3 separate regions of the Homo sapiens genome follow, and regions 2 and 3 are each linked to region 1. The links are contacts of gene promoters, found by promoter capture Hi-C in human tissues and cell types (Jung and others, 2019). All regions are on one chromosome and are shown on one strand. The core of a region is centred on a gene start or on the middle of the fragment in contact, and the rest is flanking DNA. Distances in the headings are between cores, read along the strand shown.

The links. The method cuts DNA at HindIII sites, captures the fragments that hold promoters and counts their contacts. A contact is called where the count stands out against the background at its distance.
Region 2: a fragment that was not itself captured here is called in contact with the fragment with the promoter of SLC22A8 in region 1 in 1 of the 25 tissues and cell types used here (H1 embryonic stem cells).
Region 3: a contact is called between a fragment that was not itself captured here and the fragment with the promoter of SLC22A8 in region 1, in 2 of the 25 tissues and cell types used here (liver and mesendoderm cells).

The regions. Positions count from the first base shown.
Region 1 is chr11:63,014,185-63,017,217 of GRCh38, reverse strand. SLC22A8 (solute carrier family 22 member 8) reads left to right here and starts at 1,377. Exons shown (of 11, transcript NM_004254.4): 1 at 1,377-1,489; 2 at 2,235-2,592. The coding sequence starts at 2,260. RefSeq lists an enhancer at 1,518-2,372. The HindIII fragment of the contact is 24,341 bases long and covers 1-3,033 here.
Region 2 is chr11:63,431,286-63,433,991 of GRCh38, reverse strand. No RefSeq gene overlaps it. Among named protein-coding and RNA genes, the nearest start is that of PLAAT5, 59 kb to the left of the region's middle. The HindIII fragment of the contact is 4,042 bases long and covers 1-2,706 here.
Region 3 is chr11:63,457,836-63,460,861 of GRCh38, reverse strand. No RefSeq gene overlaps it. Among named protein-coding and RNA genes, the nearest start is that of PLAAT5, 32 kb to the left of the region's middle. RefSeq lists an enhancer at 1-350. The HindIII fragment of the contact is 5,176 bases long and covers 1-3,026 here.

The DNA of each region.
Region 1 (3,033 bases), core at 128-2,627:
ACCGAGGCTGGAGTGCAGTGGCACGATCTTGGCTCACTGCAACCTCTGCCTCCTGGGTTCCAGTGATTCTCCTGCCTCAGCTTCCCAAGTAGCTGGGACTATAGGCGCGTGCCACATGCCTGGCTAATTTTTGTATTTTTAGTAGAGATGGGGTTTCACCATATTGGCCAGGCTGGTCTGGAACTCCTGACCTCGTGACCCACCCACCTTGGCCTCCCAGACTGCTGGGATTACAGGCTTGAGCCACCCCGCCCAGACCTCTAGGTGGCTCTTTAAGGGAGAGGCAATATATTAATAGTACAGTGCCCCCATAGGCTTCGTAGAGAATGTTGGTTCTAAGGGAGGGAATAGGCTTAGGGCCACCCTGCCCCTGCCCTGTGCTTCCTGGCTGGGGGATGGTGAGGAGGTCACTTAATCTCCCTTTGCCTCAGTTCCCTAATTATTAATGCTAGACTAGTCACAGGGCTGCCGTGAGGGTTAAAAGAGCCTAATGTTGGTGGCTAGAAGTTGAGGTCTTAGACTGAAGTCTCTGCTGAGGAAAAGACCAGAAGAACAGATAGGCTCTCAGGTGAGACTGGACATTTTGCTTTGTTTTGATTTGTTTTGTTTGGCTTGTCTGTATTTCCCATGTTTTATGCAGGAAACACACATTATTATATAATTAAAATAATATTCAGAGTGAAAATAAAACAGCAGGGACTACATTTGGTCCCCAGGGGGAAGCGGCTGATCAGGAGAGAAGCCTGTCCATTGAGGGTGGGATGGAAGGGGGCAGTTCACCTGTGTCAGAGACACAGACACGGAGGTCCTGGCTGCCCCAGGGGCCCAGGAGATGGCAGCCCTGCGTCCTCAGGGATAGATGAAAGTGACATTTTCTGTCTGGGTGTGCCCTAACACTTCCTGAGAGGCAAATCCCCTTCCCCTACTCGGGAGGTGCCAGGCAGGGGAGGTAGCACACAGGAGAATGCTGCCTGCTTACGGGCACCAGTGCCTTTCCCATTGGTTGTCCTCAGCATCAAGTCCTCTGAACATCAGTTGAGAGGGACCTTGAACCCTCAGAGGTCAGGCCAGATTCCTTCCCAGAATCTCCCCTCGGTGAGCCTGCCAGGGCTGCTCGCGTTGGGCGGATGTACAAAACGGAGGCACGTCTCAGACTTCCCATTTGGGCCCGTGGTGTCCAGCCAGCAGCCCTGCTAGGCTCAGCCACGCTGCCCCACCCCCAGCGGCCCTCGCTGAGGCAGCCCTTTGAGGAGAGCTGGGCTTGGTGGGTCCACAGCACTCTCCCTGCCAGTGACGTTAATCCGCAAAAGAAAGTCAAACATTAGCCCGGGAAACAGCTTATGCCTTATATAAGCCCCCCTGGGGGAGGCACAAACACAGCTTGTTAGAGCTGAGCTGCCCTACTACAGCAGCTGCCGGCCCCTAGGACAGAGCAGGGACCTCAACTACACTGATCACCAGCCCCATCGGATCCAGACCCGGCCACCAGGTGAGGAGGGATGGAGGGCCTCCCCAGCCCAGGCACCTAGGAATCCCAGGGATCTCCCAAGGCCAGGCTCCACTTGCGACTAGCCAAGCCCCTAGTGCCCTCTGAGACCTGCTTCGGGCTCTTACAGATACTCCAGCATGGTGGGCCCAGCCCCAGGGAACTGCCAGAAGCCAGGAGGCTCTGAGCTTGGGGAGGCCTTTCCCAGCAGACAACCTGAACTCTGCTAACCCTGTGTATCTGCCTGGAGCAACTGGGGACATTCACCACCCACCCTCTAATCTGTCCTTTGTAGCCAACATCCAAGGCTGGGCCCCTTGGTCCCTGCTACGTGTCCTGCACTGCTCCATGCATGCAGCATGTGCAACCAGCCTAGCTGAGCACACACATGCTCGTGTCCGCAGGTGCACACGCTCACAACACATACCCGAGCTCACGCAGCTGTGTCCTTATGCTGCAGCCTAAATGAGCACATACCCATAGATACCTTTGTGTCCACACACCTGGACACACACTTCCACCTTTGATCCCACAGCCCTCCGTGCAGCTGGGCTCTTCCTCAGACATCCACACAAGAATCTGCGGCTCCACATGCCTGAGCTTCCACATCTTTACACACTTACACATGCTCTGCTCCACACACCTGTGCTCGCATATCCACCTGGTTCACCCTCCCACATATCGTTCCATAGACCCACGCACTACCAGGCACAAATATACCTCTCCCTGGCCTATGCCCTGCCCACAGCTCTGGCTCGTCTTGCCCCAGTGCCATGACCTTCTCGGAGATCCTGGACCGTGTGGGAAGCATGGGCCATTTCCAGTTCCTGCATGTAGCCATACTGGGCCTCCCGATCCTCAACATGGCCAACCACAACCTGCTGCAGATCTTCACAGCCGCCACCCCTGTCCACCACTGTCGCCCGCCCCACAATGCCTCCACAGGGCCTTGGGTGCTCCCCATGGGCCCAAATGGGAAGCCTGAGAGGTGCCTCCGTTTTGTACATCCGCCCAATGCCAGCCTGCCCAATGACACCCAGAGGGCCATGGAGCCATGCCTGGATGGCTGGGTCTACAACAGCACCAAGGACTCCATTGTGACAGAGGTATGCCTGGGCAAACCCTCTCCCTCCACTTACCCACGTACCCCCATACCCTGCACCGCTGGTGGGCAGCAGAGGAGGCTGGGGTCTGGTGTTCCCAGGAACTGAGGACAGGTCACTGGGCAGGCAAAGAGGAAGGACCTGAGTGCAGAAGCTCATGCACCAAGACCCTTGGCTTCTTCCCACTCAGAGTCCAAGCAGTGCTTCAACAAACTGCTACTGAGGGCCTGTTCTGTGACGGGCACAGAGCTAAGCTCTGGGAATACAAAAATGCACCATGCCTGCTCCCAGGGGGTCTACAGCCCGGTGGAGATAGCACCCATTAAGGAAAACACCACACAAATAAGTGTAAAATTGCAACTTCAAAGTGACCTTGCACTATGACCGACCTCTGGGGTGGGTGTGAGAGTGAGGGCGTGGGGAATGGGTGTTGAAGGAATCCTC
Region 2 (2,706 bases), core at 138-2,637, 420 kb before region 1:
TTTTTGTGTGTGTGTCTCTGCCAGGCTTTGGTATCAGGATGATGTTGGCCTCATAAAATGAATTAGGGAGGACTCCCTCTTTTTCTTTTGATTGGAATAGTTTCAGAAGGAGTGGTACAAGCTCCTCCTTGTACCTCTGGTAGAATTCAGCTGTGAATCCATCTGGTCCTGGACTTTTTTTGGTTGGTAGGCTATTAATTATTGCCTCAATTTCAGAGGCTGTTATTGATCTATTCAGGGATTCAAATTCTTCCTGGTTTAGTCTTGGGAGGGTGTATGTGTCAAGGAATTTATCCATTTCTTCTAGATTTTCTAGTTTATCTGTGTAGAGGTGTTTATAGTATTCTCTGATGATAGTTTGTATTTCTGTGGGATCGGTGGTGATATCTCCTTTATAATTTTTTACTGCATCTATTTGAGTCTTCTCTCTTTTCTTCTTTATTAGTTTTGCTCGTAGTCTATCAATTTTGTTGATCTTTTCAAAAAACCAGCTCCTGGATTCATTGATTCTTTGAAGGGTTTTTTGTGTCTCTATCTCCTTCAGTTCTGCTCTGATCTTAGTTATTTCTTGCCTTCTGCTAGCTTTTGAATGTGTTTGCTCTTGCTTCTCTAGTTCTTTTAATTGTGATGTTAGGGTGTCAATTTTAGATCTTTCCTTCTTTTTCTTGTGCACATTTAATGTTATAAATTTCCCTCTACACACTGCTTTAAATGTGTCCCAGAGATTCTGGTATGTTGTGTCTTTGTTCTCGTTGGTTTCAAAGAACATCTTTATTTCTGCCTTCATTTCGTTATGTACCCAGTAGTCATTCAGGAGCAGGTTGTTCAGTTTCCATGTAGTTGAGTGGTTTTGCGTGAATTTATTAATCCTGAGTTCTAGTTTGATTGCACTGTGGTCTGAGAAAGAGTTTGTTATAATTTCTGCTCTTTTACATTTGCTGAGGAGTGTTTTAGTTCCAACTATGCGGTCAGTTTTGGAATAAGTGTGATGTGGTGCTGAGAAGAATGTATTTTCTGTTGATTTGGGGTGGAGGGTTCTGTAGATGTCTATTAGGTCTGCTTGGTGCAGAGCTGAGTTCAATTCCTGAATATCCTTGTTAACTATCTGTCTCATTGATCTGTCTAATGTTGATAGTGGGGTGTTGAAGTCTCCCATTAGTATTGTGTGGGACTCTAAGTCTCTTTGTAAGTCTCTAAGGACTTGCTTTATGAATCTGGGTGCTCCTGTATTGGGTGCATATATATTTAGGATAGTTAGCTCTTCTTGTTGAATTGATCCCTTTACCATTATGTAATGGCCTTCTTTGTCTCTTTGATCTTTGTTGGTTTAAAGTCTGTTTTATCAGAGACTAGGATTGCAACCCCTGCCTTTTTTTGTTTTCCATTTGCTTGGTAGATCTTCCTCCATTCCTTTATTTTGAGCCTGTGTGTGTCTCTGCATGTGAGATGGGTCTCCTGAGTACAGCACACTGATGGGTCTTGAATTTTTATCCAATTTGCCACTCTGTGTCTTTTAATTGGAGCATTTAGCCCACTTACATTTAAAGTTAATATTGTTGTGTGTGAATTTGATCCTGTCATTATGATGTTAGCTGGTTATTTTGCTTGTTAGTTGATGCAGCTTCTTCCTGGCATTGATGGTCTTTACATTTTGGCATGTTTTTGCAGTGGCTGGTACCGATTGTTCCTTTCCATGTTTAGTGCTTCCATCAGGAGCTCTTTTAGGGCAGGCCTGGTAGTGACAAAATCTCTCAGCATTTGCTTGTCTGTAAAGTATTTTATTTCTCCTTCACTTATGAAGCTTAGTTTGGCTGGATATGCAATTCTGGGTTGAAAATTCTTTTCTTTAAGAATGTTGAATATTTGCCCCCACTCTCTTCTGGCTTGTAGAGTTTCTGTTGAGAGATCCACTGTTACTCTGATGGGCTTCCCTTTGATGGTAACCCAACCTTTCTCTCTGGCTGCCCTTAACATTTTTTCCTTCATTTTAACTTTGTTGAATCTGAAAATTATGTGTCTTGGAGTTGCTGTTCTCAAGGAGTATCTTTGTGGTGTTCTCTGTATTTCCTGAATTTGAATGTTGGCCTGCCTTGCTAGGTTGGGCAAGTTCCCCTGGATAATATCCTGCAGAGTGTTTTCCAACTTGGTTCCATTCTCCTTGTCACTTTCAGGTACACCAATCAGATGTAGATTTGGTCTTTTCACATAGTCCCATATTTCTTGGAGGCTTTGTTCATTTCTTTTTACTCTTTTTTCTCTAAACTCCTTTTCTCACTTCATTTCATTCGTTTGATCTTCAATCACTGATACCCTTTCTTCCAGTTGATCGAATCAGTTACTGAAGCTTGCACATTCATCACATAGTTCTTGAGCCATGGTTTTCAGCTCCGTCAGGTCGTTTAGGGACTTCTCTATGCTGGTTATTCAGTCAGCCATTCACCTAATCTTTTTTCAAGGTTTTTATCTTGTTTGCAATGGGATCAAACTTCCCCCTTTAGCTCGGAGAAGGTTGATCATCTGAAGCTTTCTTCTCTCAACTTGTCAAAGTCACTCTCCATCCAGCTTTGTTCTGTTGCTGGCAAGGAGCTGCCTTCCTTTGGAGGGGGAGAGGTGCTCTGATTTTTAGAGTTTCCAGTTTTTCTGCTCTGTCTTTTCCCCATCTTTGTGGCTTTATCTACTTTTGGTCTTTGATGATGGTGACATACA
Region 3 (3,026 bases), core at 475-2,974, 440 kb before region 1:
AGGCTCAGGACCAGTGGTGGTCCATAGGAAACAAGCAGACCAGAGAGGCACCATGTTGGTTGAAAATGTAAGCTACCTTTGGTATCCTCTGGAATATTTTGGGAAAGAACTGGATTTCCTGCAGTCATGTAGGAGCGGGGCTTTGTCAAAGAAGGAAGATTTTAAAGGGAAGGGTGATTCCTGACTCTGTAGGACTTGGGTCCTTATAACCCACATAGGCAAGTACAGCACAAAGGGCATAGGGGCTGGATATATAGCATTCTGGTGATCATAGGCCATTTTGATCTCCACACTGTTCCTCTAGAAACTTCTTATCACTTTAGGAGAACAACCAATGGTAATCCAAACTCTAAGAAGGCTATCTGAGCCACTTAAAGTTCTGTTCTCCCAAAGTTTCTGGTCGCATTATTTTCAAAGCCAATTTTCAGCTGGGCAGAATCTTTACTAGGAATCCAACTATTTGTGAACCCCATGCTGCTGCTTCTTGGCAGACAGCAAAAGTGTATTTTTTTTTTCCAGGAGTATGGTGGTATTTACTTTGTTTTAAAAATATTCTTGTTGGGGGTTCTGGCAAGATGGTCGAATAGGAACAGCTCCAGTCTGCAGCTCCCAGTGAGACCTATGCAGAAGGCGGGTGATTTCTGCATTTCCAACTGAGATATCCTGTTTATCTCATTGCGACTGGTTAGACAGTGGGTGCAGCCCATGGAGGGCGAGCATAAGCAAGGTGGGGCATCACCTTACCCGGGAAGTGCAAGGAGCAGGAGGCCTCCCTTTCCCAGCCAAGGGAAGCCATGAGGGACTGTGCTATCCCACCCAGATACTATGCTTTTCCCATAGCTTTTGCAATCCGCAAACCAGGAGATTCCATGGTGAGCCTACACCACCAGGGCCCTGGGTTTCAAGCACAAAACTGGGCGGCTGTTCGGGCAGACACCGAGCCAGCTGCAGAAATTTTTTTTTCATCCCCTGGTGGCGCCTGGAACCCCAGAGAGTCAGAACCGTTCACTTACCTGGAAAGGAGGCTGAAGCCAGGGAGCCAAGTAGTCTCGCTCAGCAGGTCCCACTCCCATGGAGCCCAGCAAGCTATGAATCACTGGCTTGAAATTCCTGCTGCCAGCACAGCAGGAATTGACCTGGGATGTTGACCTGGGATGATTGAGCTAGCAGAAGACAAGAAAAAAGTAACATCAGAGTGGAACTGAAGGAGACAGAGACACAAAAAACTTTTCAAATAATCTGAATCCAGGGGCTTTTTTTTTTTTTGAAAAAATTAAGGAAATAGACTGCTAGCTAGACTAATAAAGAAGAAAAGAGAATATCAAATAAACACAATAAAAAATGATACAGAGTTTCATTTGCATCCTTGTGAAGAGACCACCAAACAGGCTTTGTGTGAGCAACAAGGCTGTTTCACCTGGGTGCAGGCGGGCTGAGTCCGAAAAGAGTCAGCCAAGGGAGATAGGGGTGGGGCTGTTTTACAAGATTTGGGTAGGTAAAGGAAAATTACAGTCAAAGGGGGGTTGTTCTCTGGTGGGCAGGGGTGGGGGTCACAAGGTGCTCAGTGGGGGAGCTTTTTGAGCCAGGATGAGCCAGGAGAAGGAATTTCACAAGGTAGTGTCACCAGTTAAGGTAAGGACTGGCCATTTTAACTTCTTTTGTGGTGGAATGTCATCAGTTAAGGCAGGAACAGGCCATTTAAATATCACTTCTTTTGTGATTCTTCAGTTACTTTAGGCTATCTGGATGTATACGTGCAGGTCATAGGGGATATGATGGCTTAGCTTGGGTTCAGAGGCCTGACATTCCTCTCTTCTTATATTAATAAGGAAAATAAAACATAATAGTGTTGAAGTGTTGGGGCGGTGAAAATTTTTGGGGGTGGTATGGAGAGATAATGGACGATGTCTGTCGGGGCTGCTTCGAGCGGGATTAGGGGTGGCGTGGGAACCTAGAGTGTGAGAGATTAAGCTGAAGGAAGATTTTGTGGTAAGGGGTGATATTGTGGGGTTGTTAGAAGAAACATTTGTCGTGTAGAATTATTGGTGATGGCCTGGATACGGTTTTGCATGAATTGAAAAATTAAATGGAATAAGAGAAGGAGAAAAACAGGTATTAAAGGACTAAGAATTGGGAGGACCTAGGACGTCTAATTAGAGAGTGCCTAAGGGGGTTCAGCATAATTACTTGCTTGGTTGGCAAGTTTTTGGGCTCTATCCTTGAGTTTTTTTATGTTGTCATACACCAGGCCAGATTGATTTAGGTAAAAACAACACTCTTCATTTAAGAATATACAGTCTTCCTTTTTCAGTAGTGAGTAAGTCAAGGCCTCAGCGGTTTTGGAGGACAACTGCAGCTAAAGAGTCAACTTAGGCCTGGAGGACTGATAAAGTTTGTGATATGTCTGTGATGCTAGCAGAGAAGTCATTAGAGACGCTACAGAAGGTCATGACAGAGGTTGAAATGCCTGTTATTGCAGTACCGAGAGCAATAGGGGAGGCAGAAAGTCCTAAACCGACAAGCAAGGGAATTAGTGGAATAACTCTTTTTTGTCATGTTGGTGTCATGAGGGGAACAGGGAACTCTTTGGTTCTATTTGCAAATTGAATTTTGGGGGTAAGGAAAACTAGTGTGCATGTGCCTGTCCAATTAGCAGGTAGACACATGTAGGTAGAGGATCCACAGAGGAAGAAGAGACCTTGTGTGAGGCAAAACTGGAGACGCAAAGTAAAAAGATGAGAAGGAGGGCTGAAAGGGGTGTCTTTTACCTAGACTCCTAGGGATCGAGCTAGGGCGGCAGCCATCAGAGGTTGTAATGGGGACTAATGGGGTAACAGCGTAGAGGGGAAGGTTTGATTTTCATGGTGTAGGAGAAAACGTTGAGTGTCTATGAGCAAACTTTTACTGTTATTTACGGGGCTGGGTATAAGCAAACAAGAAGAGGGCCTGGGAGGAGAGTCTGACGAGCAAGGGGAAGGTAGCCAAGAATGGAGTGAAATACTGGGTAAGTGTCTTCCTAAGCAATA